Regions from separate parts of the Homo sapiens genome. Here region 1 is linked to region 2. Evidence: promoter capture Hi-C in human tissues and cell types (Jung and others, 2019). All regions are on one chromosome and are shown on one strand. Each heading gives the region's core, a stretch centred on a gene start or on the middle of the fragment in contact. The rest is flanking DNA. Distances are from core to core; before and after follow the strand shown.

The links. The method cuts DNA at HindIII sites, captures the fragments that hold promoters and counts their contacts. A contact is called where the count stands out against the background at its distance.
Region 1: a contact is called between a fragment that was not itself captured here and the fragment with the promoter of GPC5 in region 2, in 1 of the 25 tissues and cell types used here (lymphoblastoid cells).

What each region holds. Positions count from the first base shown.
Region 1 is chr13:91,350,559-91,356,563 of GRCh38, reverse strand. MIR17HG (miR-17-92a-1 cluster host gene) reads right to left here. Exons shown (of 3, transcript NR_197388.1): 3 at 1,987-6,005. It overlaps MIR17 (microRNA 17), which reads right to left and starts at 5,959; the gene lies at 5,876-5,959. It overlaps MIR18A (microRNA 18a), which reads right to left and starts at 5,813; the gene lies at 5,743-5,813. MIR19A (microRNA 19a) reads right to left here and starts at 5,673; the gene lies at 5,592-5,673. It also overlaps MIR20A, MIR19B1 and MIR92A1. The HindIII fragment of the contact is 5,011 bases long and covers 2,250-6,005 here.
Region 2 is chr13:91,397,347-91,403,705 of GRCh38, reverse strand. GPC5 (glypican 5) reads right to left here and starts at 5,085. Exons shown (of 8, transcript NM_004466.6): 1 at 4,497-5,085. The coding sequence starts at 4,659. It overlaps LOC124903189 (a long non-coding RNA gene), which reads right to left. Exons shown (of 2, transcript XR_007063831.1): 2 at 6,118-6,359. RefSeq lists silencers at 5,001-5,270, 4,977-5,271. The HindIII fragment of the contact is 16,121 bases long and covers 1-6,359 here.

The sequences.
Region 1 (6,005 bases), core at 3,506-6,005, 47 kb after region 2:
TTCAGAATGATGGTGGCCACTGTGACAGTAGCCAACCAAGGAAATACAGGTATAGCACAAAGACAACTACACACCTGGCCTGTTAGGTGCTGTTACCAAAACAAAGTATCATTGGAGAAGAAAAAGGGAAGTTACTGAAATTGAAGAGTAAGGAAAAGCCTGTGGATTTAGAAATAAATGTGGGGTTGGGGCACATATTTTGTCAGTCAGCTATAAAACTGAGTAATGACTGCATGAACCATAAAAATAGTTTACTGGTCTCTTTCCTGCATATAAATTCTAAGGTGTTTTGATGTTCTTCTGCATTCCTATGGCTCAGCATTTCCAACAATTCAGGGTAGTAGATATATCCTTAAGTATATACAGCAAAATCAACAGGTATTTCTCAAAATACTTGTCTGCGCAGCATCCTGCCCCAAAGACTCTAATATAGTGCAGCTAGATTAAGATTCCAGGTCTTTACGTCTTAATAATTTTAAGACAACTGGTTAAGAACCTTTTCTTGGTAAATGCATAATCACTTTAGAATTCCTAGCACCACCTTACAGGACCCCAATTTTCATCTACTCTTGGAACATTCACTAGTCTCATCTAGTTACCCCAACCTGCTGAACAGTGTGGTATTCCATCTGGATCAGTACATCTCAACAAGTGCAGAACTGATGTCGTCGAAGCTTTTTTTCAATCTTTTTCAGTCTATGTAAGTTGAAGTCAACATTAAACGTACTAAAAATTCACAGTATATATGCTTTTATAAACAAGTGTGAACAATTAGTACATGCTCACCTCTACTAATATACTGACAAATCTAGGTCTTAAAAGTAAACATGCAGTTATTAAGGATTTAGTATATTCAACCTGAGATCTAATTACTAATCACTTAGGAGTATACTAACATTTCATTTCGGGGAACTTACTACCAAACTCAGGTCTTTGTTATTTACCTCTATGACTAACGCATTTATGTCGGCACTTACTTAAGTTAGCCCTATGTATCTGTGGTTCCTGCATCCAACCACAAACAGACTGAAAATACTCAGGAAAAAAAATCTCACGAAGTCCCCAAAAGCCAAACCTGAATTTGCCACACGCAAATACTATACTGAATCTACATGAATAATATGTAAGATATTTTACCAGATTATTCAAGCAATATATAGACAGCTTAAAGCATACAAGAAGACATGTATAGATTTACATGCAAACACTGCACCACTTTACATAAGGGACTTGAGCACCTGAAGAATTTGGTATGCACTGAGGGTCCTACCAATCCCTCCACTGATACTGAGGGTCAACTATGCTAAAACTCTGCATGAGCCTAGATTTCTTGTGTTACTGGCCATAGACAGGTACAATCTCGTACCTCATTTAAAAAATATTTACAATGATTTTTTGAACTTTTAGAAATGGCTGAACTTTGAGGGCTGGTCAGAACATACCATTCTTATTTAATGTTTTAGAGTTAGTACAGACCCATTAATAAACACTCAACCCAGGAGCCAACACATATTGGACATTTATTAGAAGCAGGAGTTTAAGACTTTTTATATACTTTGGCCTCCTCTCTTAAACTTTCATGTTATCAACTGGCCAAAAAACACAAAAAACAAAAGAACTCCCACCTTACTAACGTGTATAATATAAACAAAATGAAGAATGCTTCAGACTTACCAAGATTTAAGGAAACAAGTGTGATCTGAGAACTTGTCAGATTCCATAAAAATACTAGGCAGAAGATAACCTTTTAAAATACTGACATATTTTAATTCAGAGTCCATTTACCACCTTTCCATTCTGCTTGAAAATGAACTTCTGATCTCATATGTAAAGTAAGAATACAAATACATATTTCACAGGTAATGAAGATTAAATAAGAAAATCCAGATAAACTTTGGTCCTTGTCTCCACTTCCCCAATTAATTAATAAGTAACCTTTAGACCATCTGTAGTGACAAAACAAAAACGCCATAAAAACTGCGATAATAACCTTGAAGTTTTTATTTCAATATTCTCGTTCTGGACAATTTCTTAACAGCTTTAAAATGCAGTATTTTATTTATTAACATTAAATGCGCTAGAACTCAAACAGCCAGACCAAACTGTAAATACAGAACTAGGCACATCTCAATGTTCTGTCTCTGTGTTTACATTACTGGATAAGAAAATTAAGCATTCTTCAACTTTTCTATGGGTCTTAAAATTCATGGAATATGTGCATTTTCCTAATGACCCTTTAAAACTAATACCACATATGAAATGTTATCAAGGCAGAAAACTACATTAATTTCGACTTTAATAAGATGTAACTCATACAACCACTAAGCTAAAGAATAATCTGAAGTCTCAAGTGGGCATGATGATCTTATTTCCATCAAACACTAAAAACTGGCTCTGTGCAGATTGAGCTCTCCTTACCTTTACTGCTCAGTTGAGAGGCTCTTAATTCTCTAAAGTTAGACAAACTATGCAAAACTGTCAATTAAACAGTGTATCATTAAATACATAATAAACTTTAATGTGACACTGAGTTGTTCTCCAGGAAGTTGCAGGCTGCATTTTGTCAGGAGTCAGTGTGTCTTCAAACTACAGGAGAAAACCCAAGTCTGGCTTGTAGTTAGACAGGTCTGCCTGTAAAATGAAGATCTCAAAAGTTTTCAGTAAAATCACCAACACTTTGCAAGCAGCTTTAAAAAGAATTCCTAAAATGTTAAGTGCTTTCTTTCCAAATATAGGCTAAAAATAGAAAGTTGTACATGCAAACGCCAAAAAAAAAAAAAAAAGTTGACCCATTTTTTCCCCTCCAAATAGTTAAGGCTATTTATTAAACCTAAAGCAACATGACCTCTTAAGTCTCAAGCAACTTCAAGGTTAAAGCATTTTAAGAACAAGGGTCAAAGTTGTTTTTTCTCAGGTCAGAGATGAGGCCATTATCAACTTGCTCACTCATCTGAATTTCAAAATGGCTAAATTAACAATGTGAATCTTTTTATACAATACTTACATGGCTTTTTGTTGGCATGTTAGCATGCCTAAGAAAATCTTAATAGAACCAAGAATGTAAAATTTGCCTCACATTCTAAAGCCAGAAACAAATCAAAAGCAATTCCTATTAAACCCTATAGAACCACAGATCACTACCAAACCCACAACAAAACATACACATTTATTAACTTGTTTATTAGATTTAAATCTCAGTTCAAGCCCAATTAAGTTCTGAACACAATGAATACTAGTTTCAGTCTCTAGGGAGAAAAGCCATTTAAGTCTTTGTTATTAAAACATATTTGACTTACATTTTAGAATATTTAAGAAATCATCCAGCAGGCTTCCTATCACACTGTTCCAGTTTTTAAAAAAATTGCTAGTGTATCTCCCCAAAAGCACACCATTTTGCAAACTACCAGACCATGCTGTATTATGAAACTTTTTTTTTTTTTTTTTTTTTTTTTTTGCGTTTAAGTCTTGGTCTTGCGCCCAGGCTGGAGTGCAGTGGCAGGATCTCAGCTCACTGAAACCTCCACCTCCCAGGTTCAGGTGATTCTCCTGCCTCAGCCTCCAGAGTAGCTGGGATTACAGGTGCACGCCACTGCACCCGGCTAATTTTTTATATTTTTAGTAGAGACAGCGTTTCACCATGTCGGCCAGGTTGGTCTCGAACTCCTGACCTCAGGTAATCCGTCTGCCTCAGCCTCCCCAAGTGCTAGGATTATAGGTGTGAGCCACCGTGTCCAGCCGGAACTTTTTAAGCATAGTTTGAAAGCCACGTTTGTCACTAAATAACCAAAAAGACACAATTATTAGGTCTCCTTCAATTCAAAAAGCTTAAGAACTCTGCTAATGTACAATTTGATTTCCATTTTATAAATCACTGTTCATTTCACATCCTGAAAATTTATGTTTTCATCAACTCCAGAATGATAGAATTCTTACCTTTCTATTCAGGAATCCAAGGCTAAGTTCCTTAAATTTCTTAAAGAACACATTAGAGGTGAAAACTTTTGTTAGACTTCAGACAATATTTTTAAAAGCTGATTTCTAGATTTATTGGGTGGTCTAACCTAGTGTTATGGAAGTTTATTTCTTATTACTAAGATAGCCTCTTTTACTCCAAAATACAATGACATTTCTCAAAACTTATCTTTCAAACATCAAGTTTGCCTGTACTTCAGCTTGGGCCCAATTTTACCACTTGGTCCTTTTAAATCTATTATTCAGGTATCCCACATTATTCTACACAAATACACATAGGCTAGAGACAAAAACACATGAAGAAAAGAGAGAAGGCAGAAATGCTGGGTAAAACACTAACTGCCACTTCTTAGTTTCCACTTCAGTGACTTTAAGTCAAATAAGCCTGGAATCAACTATCACTGTTGCCAAAGTCTGGCTTACGTAGGGAGTAGGGAACATAAATGTTAACTACAGACTTAGAAATAAATGAATATCTGAATCTCACCCCACCGCTGCACTCTTGGCATTTGGGAAGAGTGTACACATACATTTAACTGTTACTCTATTTAGCATTTGTTCTTTTTCTAACTCCCATTTTTTTAAGTTGCAGATGCTAAAAGCAGTCTGAGGACCTTGGTCATTTATAGCTTATAAATCACTGACAATCAGAAAGAAAAACTAGTATACAAGCATTTAACAGTTACACTTCAGTTACTCATGTATTGGTAAACTGGTACTTGCTTAATAGAAACAAATTGTACCCCAACCCTAAATTCCATGCTTAAAAAAACTCATCTTTACACATTGCTTTAAACAGAGCGGCATTCTCTCTAAATTTAAATACTTGAGTAATATATGAGCAACATAAATTAACTTTTAGATTAAGTAAAATATCCTGGAATAACACTAACTCCAAAGAAAGCAAAAAGATATACTCTAACTTTACAGATGATCATCAGGTATACAGTATGTTTAGTCATATCGCAATACTTAACAGCCAAATAAATCTAACAACAAAAAATATAGCCAGAATTTATACTGCCAAATCTGACACGCAACCCCAAAAGTGAAATGTTTTTGAATGAAAACAAGACAAGATGTATTTACACAAAAAGTTACACATTTTCTTTAATATTTCATGTATCTTGTACATTTAACAGTGGAAGTCGAAATCTTCAGTAATATTTAATTTTCAAAATCTTCTGGTCACAATCCCCACCAAACTCAACAGGCCGGGACAAGTGCAATACCATACAGAAACACAGCATTGCAACCGATCCCAACCTGTGTAGAAAGGGGTTTGAGTTTCCCTTACTTTTCTACAGACTTTTCACTACCACAGTCAGTTTTGCATGGATTTGCACAGCAGAATATCACACAGCTGGATGCAAACCTGCAAAACTAACCATAGAACAGTGTTCAGTAACAGGACAGTTTGATTGGGCGACAGGCCGAAGCTGGAGTTCTACAGCTAGCAGTACTTTAAGTGCTCATAATGCAGTAGATAACTAAACACTACCTGCACTATAAGCACTTTAGTGCTACAGAAGCTGTCACATCAGATAGACCAGGCAGATTCTACATCGACACAATAAAAGTACACAAAATTAGTAAAAATCATTCATTTGAAGGAAATAGCAGGCCACCATCAGTTTTGCATAGATTTGCACAACTACATTCTTCTTGTAGTGCAACTATGCAAAACTAACAGAGGACTGCAAACAAAAACTATTAAAACACCTATATACTTGCTTGGCTTGAATTATTGGATGAATACATAACTTCTTATGCCAGAAGGAGCACTTAGGGCAGTAGATGCTAATCTACTTCACTATCTGCACTAGATGCACCTTAGAACAAAAAGCACTCAACATCAGCAGGCCCTGCACTTTAAAGCCCAACTTGGCTTCCCGAGGCAGCTGTCACCATAATGCTACAAGTGCCTTCACTGCAGTAGATGCACATATCACTACCTGCACTGTAAGCACTTTGACATTATTCTGACTGGTCACAATCTTCAGTTTTACAAGGTGATGTTCTCTTTTTTCCTG
Region 2 (6,359 bases), core at 3,836-6,335:
TTCCCAAGGGAAAAGGTGACAAACTGTCCTGGAAGTGGAACTGGGCCTTGATGCTCACAATTCAAGATAAATAACATGCACAGAATTAGAAAACAATGATGAGGCAAGACCACTTGGGACCTGTGGTATAAAAGGATGAGGACAAAGGCACTCTGCAACCACAAAAATAACTAAACATTCCCCTCTTTTAACCAGCACTAGCTACTACTGCTTCTTTATTTATGACAACTACCCCACCTTAATCTTTCTAACACCTAGATAAAAGTTACCAAAATAGCCAATTCCTGAATTGCCCCACTTCATTAAACCTTCCTTATAATAATAGCCCACCACAAGCCCAAATCCTATAAAAAGCCCTCCCAACTACCTACTACCAAACTCTCCAGAGTCCCTTTGGTGTGCAATCTCCCTTGCTGCAACAAACAAAATGAATCTAATTTTACTACAATCTTGTTTCCAGTGGTTCCTGGCTGGTGGGCTTCGACCCAGGGCAATCCTGATGTTAATCATCTGCCCCAATGTCAGACGACGGGTCCCAATTCTGGCTTTGGAAATTTGATCCCCACAAACACGTTGTTCAAACAGCAAAATTGGTTTCATGAGAAATAGAGTCGCAATTTCAGATTACTGTCCATGAGTGACTATGGCCACCAACATTCTAATTGTGTGAATCTGTAAACCACCTTAGAAGCACTATTTTACCTCCCTACAGACAGAAGAACGGTGGTGTGGCAGTGGAGACAGTGGTTATGGGCATTGCAGCTAGCAGCAGCGCAGCCTTGTTTCATAGAGGTTTATTAGTTCACAAAAATAAACAAAATATTCACCATAATGTAACGGATATCACTTTAGATAAAAATACATTTCCCAAATTTAAAAATAATCATTTCTGACTTGAAACCAACTCATTATTGTAAAAACATCTTTGATATATAAAGATCTAAAATTAAAATGTCATCCTTAAAAATCAAGTTAAAATCAAGACAGTAAACAAAAAAATTATAATGACAACAAGAACATATTTTCAGCACTTACTATGTGCCTGGATTTGTGACATTTTACATTATTTCATTTTATCTATGCAAACACTTTTTAAGAATATTCCTATTTCTAAATGAGAAAACAGAGGTTCAAGATGATAATTTGTCTATGAAGCAGAACTACAAGTGGTAGAACCAAGTTTTGAAAGCCAAATGTCTATCCAGTAAATCCAAACTCCAAGGTTACCAAGCAGATCATTTTTCTTAGGTGTGAGAATGAAACTACACTGTCCTTGGAGCAATAATAAGATTTGATTATAATGAAAGCAGTTTAAAAAACAACAACAACTTCAGAGCACTGCTTACAGTGTCTTTTAGTATTAAAATTTCACTTAGCCATGTCAAGAGTTTATTTTTATTACTCTATTTATAGCCAAAATCTACCAAGGAAAAGTTACTTTCACAGACTACTTGATATCGAGAGTATACTTGCTATAGATTTCTATATCAACAAACATGCATATTTCAAAAAATAGTTGGTATATAAATTATCTAAATGTATTATTTTTTATGAACTTCCCCTTTCTGAACTACCCTCTAAAAGAGGAACTACTGCATGTGTGAACAATGCACAATGCATGTGCAAAGAGAATTTTAATAGAAAAGCATTATCCCCATCCCCAATAAATAAAATAAAAATGAAAAGACCTTTAAAAGACACTTTCAGTAACAGTTCTTTTCTGAATAAAATAAACAAGAGCAAAGGGCACCTTGACTACTACTTAGAAAATAAAATCGGAACACAGGGAAATCTCTAATTCTAATCACATTTACACCTTCTCTCCTTTTTTACATTTCTCATCCAAACATCCTTAGGAGCTCAATAGGCTTAAAAGAATTGGAGCAGGGTAGAGAACAAAGGTGAGGGGAATCTGAGAAACAGTTTAAATCACTGCTCTCACAATTTTAATAATTTCAATTTGGATAACATTTTTATCAGAAAAAGTAAAAGTCACAAAGGTAGGAAGAAACTAAAAACTTATTCTACCTGCTTATATTATACAAACTGTGTTTTGGCTAGACATCTCAGGGATTAACCACTGTGAACAAGAAATGCAAGAAAGCAGTAAAAATACGTACTTCCAAAAACAAAATCAAATTAAATGTGTTTGTTTTAGTCAGTGAAAGGGTATGTGCTAAATGAATAGATTTGTTAAAAGATATTACTATTTGTATTCTCATGGAGAAATGACTAAATTATGTTCTCTCTTGAGATTGAGGATAATCTTAGAAAATATGATAGTCAATTACCATATTCAATCATGTTAAATGTTGTAGATCATATATAAATACAAAAAGAAAGAAAATTATTTATTAAGCATGTGGTATGTTTGGTTTACTCAATTTGGGATTGAGGGGTTTTTTTTTTTAGAGAGATGAGAGGAATCAGTGTTTAAAAAAGTTTAATATTTTGCTGAATTATTTGTAAAAGAATGACCAACAATACAGACACAAAACTTCAGAATTATATCAAATTCCTATATGAATGCCTTTTTTGGGGGGTGGATCTAAATCAGCATAGCACTTTTGTGTGACTTTTTCTTAGTGAAAATATTAAAGGAACTTAGCATTTCTTTTCACCAGTACCACTGATGTCTCTAAGCCTCTTCTGTGAGTGCTCCCGTGATTCCTCCATCACCTTCAGCCACAGATTTAAAAAATCTACTAGCAATGGGGAAACAATCCAGAGTGACTTAGAAAAGAAAGATTCCTTGTCGTCATGGAACTTTTTTGTGTGTCATGTGTATCAAATGCAAATAATTACAGTCATTTCCCTCTCCTTAGGACAGAGCTTTAGTTTTCCCTGACATCCTGGTAAGACACTGTCTCAGTGACTGATACTCTGGAAAGTTCATCTTTAAAAGAGATGAACACCCAATCAATGTGTTGCATTCAGCAGATACCAGAAATACTGAGATACCAGAGTGGAGTGAAATCAGGGCCTTACTGGGGAGAAGGGGCTGGCCATCAACATTCGGTGAACATAGCAGGCAAAGTTACCATATTTGGGGACTAAAAATCTAATAATTCAGGTAAAGATCTCACATCATAACACCCTCACCACCCACACGCACAAACTCACTTTAGTTTTATCAGCAGCCAATAAAGTGAGATTTATTTCCTAATGAAAAGAATGCACTAAGAAAAATACAGATCTATAAGGCGATATTTTATTTGGGGATAGAAGAATCGCCCTAAACTGAGAATGTCAACTTTGTTTCAAGTAATACAGAAAAAGCACCTAGTACCAAACAGGTATACAAAGAAATAGCTGGGTTTAAGACTGGTCATGTAAACTCAAATGGAGTCAGTGTTCCCGAATGCCTAGATTTTCTTTCTGGGATGACTTAAAATTGAGCAAAGCAATCAAGAAAAGCGGCTACAGCTCACACTTCCTCATTGCTACAAGCAAGTCCCCCAACCCTGGAAACTCGGGACTTTAGACTTAAGCGTCCTCCACAAGTTCTTTGTTCAACCAGTAACCTCACAGATTCGTCTGTGTTGGCTTCATAGTCACAGCTAAAGGGGTGCATGGCTCTAGTGAGATCTTACTTAGCTCTAGACACCTGCTATTGCGTTTGACAGCTATGACCTATTCTTCCAGACAGAACCTACACTGGAACTCCCACCAGCAGAAGGAAATTGGTGCGGTGGAAACGGGGAGCAGGGTTCGAAAGCACAGGCAAAAGGCGCTCACAGGAAGCAAGATCCACGCTGGCCACACAAACTGTATCTTTCCCTTTGGAACGCTGGTACATCTCATCCATGTCAAGTGACTCCCCAGTACGTTCGGTTTGATCGCCTGTTGCCCTAACACTTTTCAGGCTAAAAACTACCTTGGTGCTGGGAGACACACTGGGTGGTTGGGTTTCCTCCAAGCAGGGCTTGATACGAGGGCACAGAAGGGCAGCTAAGGGTCACGTCTCTGGGTGCACAGGGTCCAAGTCCTAATTACAGAGGAGACCGGCTGCCCTTGTCTGTGCCCCATTCTCCAGCAAAGGGGTATATCGCAGGTTTGTGATTTTTAGTACCAAACTTGGGGCGATCAATTCAATTCCCTCCACCTTATGAGAAAGCAGTAAACCGAAATCCCCGGTGGGGCACTGGGGAAATTCCTACTCGGAAGAGAAACGGAGTTAGACTGCGTGTCCCCCACGCCCTGATGTCTGCTTTCCTGGTTCCTTCCAACTCATCCTCCAAGACGAAGGGAGCCGGGCGGGAAGCAGATGCCCAGAACGGGGATTCGTCGCAGGCTTGGTTAGGGGTCCCCAGAGCTGCGCTGCGCTGCACTCAGGCTACCCGCACCAAGCATCCCCGGAAGCCTCCCCGGGATTCACCCTGCGCGGCTGCAGGGCCCGAAAGGTCATCTTCCCACGAGTGCCACCAAGGGAGCCTGGGGGAGCGAAGGCCGGGCTCGGACGCCGCCAGTCCAGAGACCCCCTCATTGCCCCTTACCTGCCCGCGGCGAATCCGGCAGCCCCCTGACAGCTCCCAGCAGCCGCCACTGGAAAAGTTTCCGAACTTCTTCGCAGGTCTGCACGCCCTCGCTGCGGGCGGACCCAACCAGGGCCAGAAGGAGGAGGCAGCGAAAGCCCACGGGCCAGGTCTGTGCGTCCATCCTCGCCGTCCTGGTCCCCTTTACCCGCCAGTGGACCCCACTCGCCCTGCGCGCCCTGGCTGAGCTGCAGACGTGGAAGACACAGCGGCCGAGGCTCTCGAGCGGTGCGAGCCGGCTGCGGGGTGTACGGACCGCCCGCGGGCACCGGCTTCACCTGGGAGCAGTTAGCTCTTCCCGGAGGAGGCCCTAAGCTGAGACACCAGAGTTTTCCAGCTGAGCACCCTCTGGTCTTCTTCCCTAGCCGAGAAGAGTGGGCGGCTGGGCGGGGCGAAGAAAACTAGTGGAGCCGCAGGGAGCCCGCAAGCATCCGCTCTGGCCACCACTGCTGCAACTGCTGCCGCTGCCGCCACTGCCGCCACTGCCGCCACTGCCGCCGCCGCCGCCGCCTCCGCCGCCCGGCTCGGCTCGCAGCAGCTAACCTGGGATGTGCCCGCTCGCTGCGCTCCGCGGAAGCCCCGCCCCGCACTCCCCGCCCCGCGGACAGGCCACGCCCCTGCCACGCCCCCGGCGCGCTGTCCCGCTCCGCACCCACTAAGATGCTGTCATACGCGGCCCAGTGCTGAAGACTCGGAGCGACATCGATGCAAATAAATAGAAGGAAACCCGGACCTCGCTCTCCCAGTCCGTTCTGGGGAAGAATCATCTGATAAAAACAGAGAATGTATAAATAGGGTCAGAGAAGACAAGAGATGAGAAACACCAACTGGAACTAAGAAATATCTCATCTATGTAATCAAGGTCCTCAGTACATAGGAATTTGTATTCTAATTGCATTAAATAGGATCTGGACATAATACAAAAGGCAAAAACTATTTACGGTTAAAGATCTCAATTGAGAGACTTCATAACACTTAGGTTGTTAAAGAGTGCACATGAGAAGTTATTTTTTAAAATGGCTTTGTTTTACTGCTTAGGAACATTTTTCTATAACATGATTTTCTGAAAGGAGGTATAAGAATTACAATCAAACTTTATCACATTCTTATCACAATGAAATCTAGTTTTAAGTCTCTTATCACCATTTAGCATCATATTTTACTTCAGCACTTTGTATTTGTGGGGCTCCTCTGAGCTTTACCACTTCTGGAATTTCTTTAAAATATTTTTCAGAGAGCAATTAAGTTAAGAGTGCTCAGGGGAGTTCCTTACAAGGAATATAGAAAAATAAATACTTTAAGCAATTTTAAAATGGCAAAGGAATTTTGTCAATTTACAGTTTATGAGAGGAATGCATTACGCACCATAAACCAAAGGGCAGGTGCATTTTTTAAATGTGGTTGACTCAACAACTAAGCCTGTAAGAGTGTCTCAATCTACAGCCACTTGAAGAGAGTACTCCTTCTGTAAAATAAACTAGTTAAAAGCATCAGGCAGAGGGGACAATGAATGCTTTAACCACTTTAAGGAATTTCATCTCAAATTTGAACCCTTACCAAGAGATAGTAGTGAAAAACTTTATGTCTTAGTGAAGATTTTTAATGAACATTTAATATCAAAGGCAGCACTTTCAGCAGTATATCACTTGCTTTAAAACCATTCCAGGGCAATGGCTGAAACACTGCTTCAGAGTGAAATCATGCTACTTGGTGTTTGGCATCAGTTTTCTGAATATGAGATTTTGTTTCAAAGGGCAGTGCTCTTCATGAATCTCTTCTGCTCTAACCACCAAGTATGGAAAGATTGTCTGGAAGCCACCTATA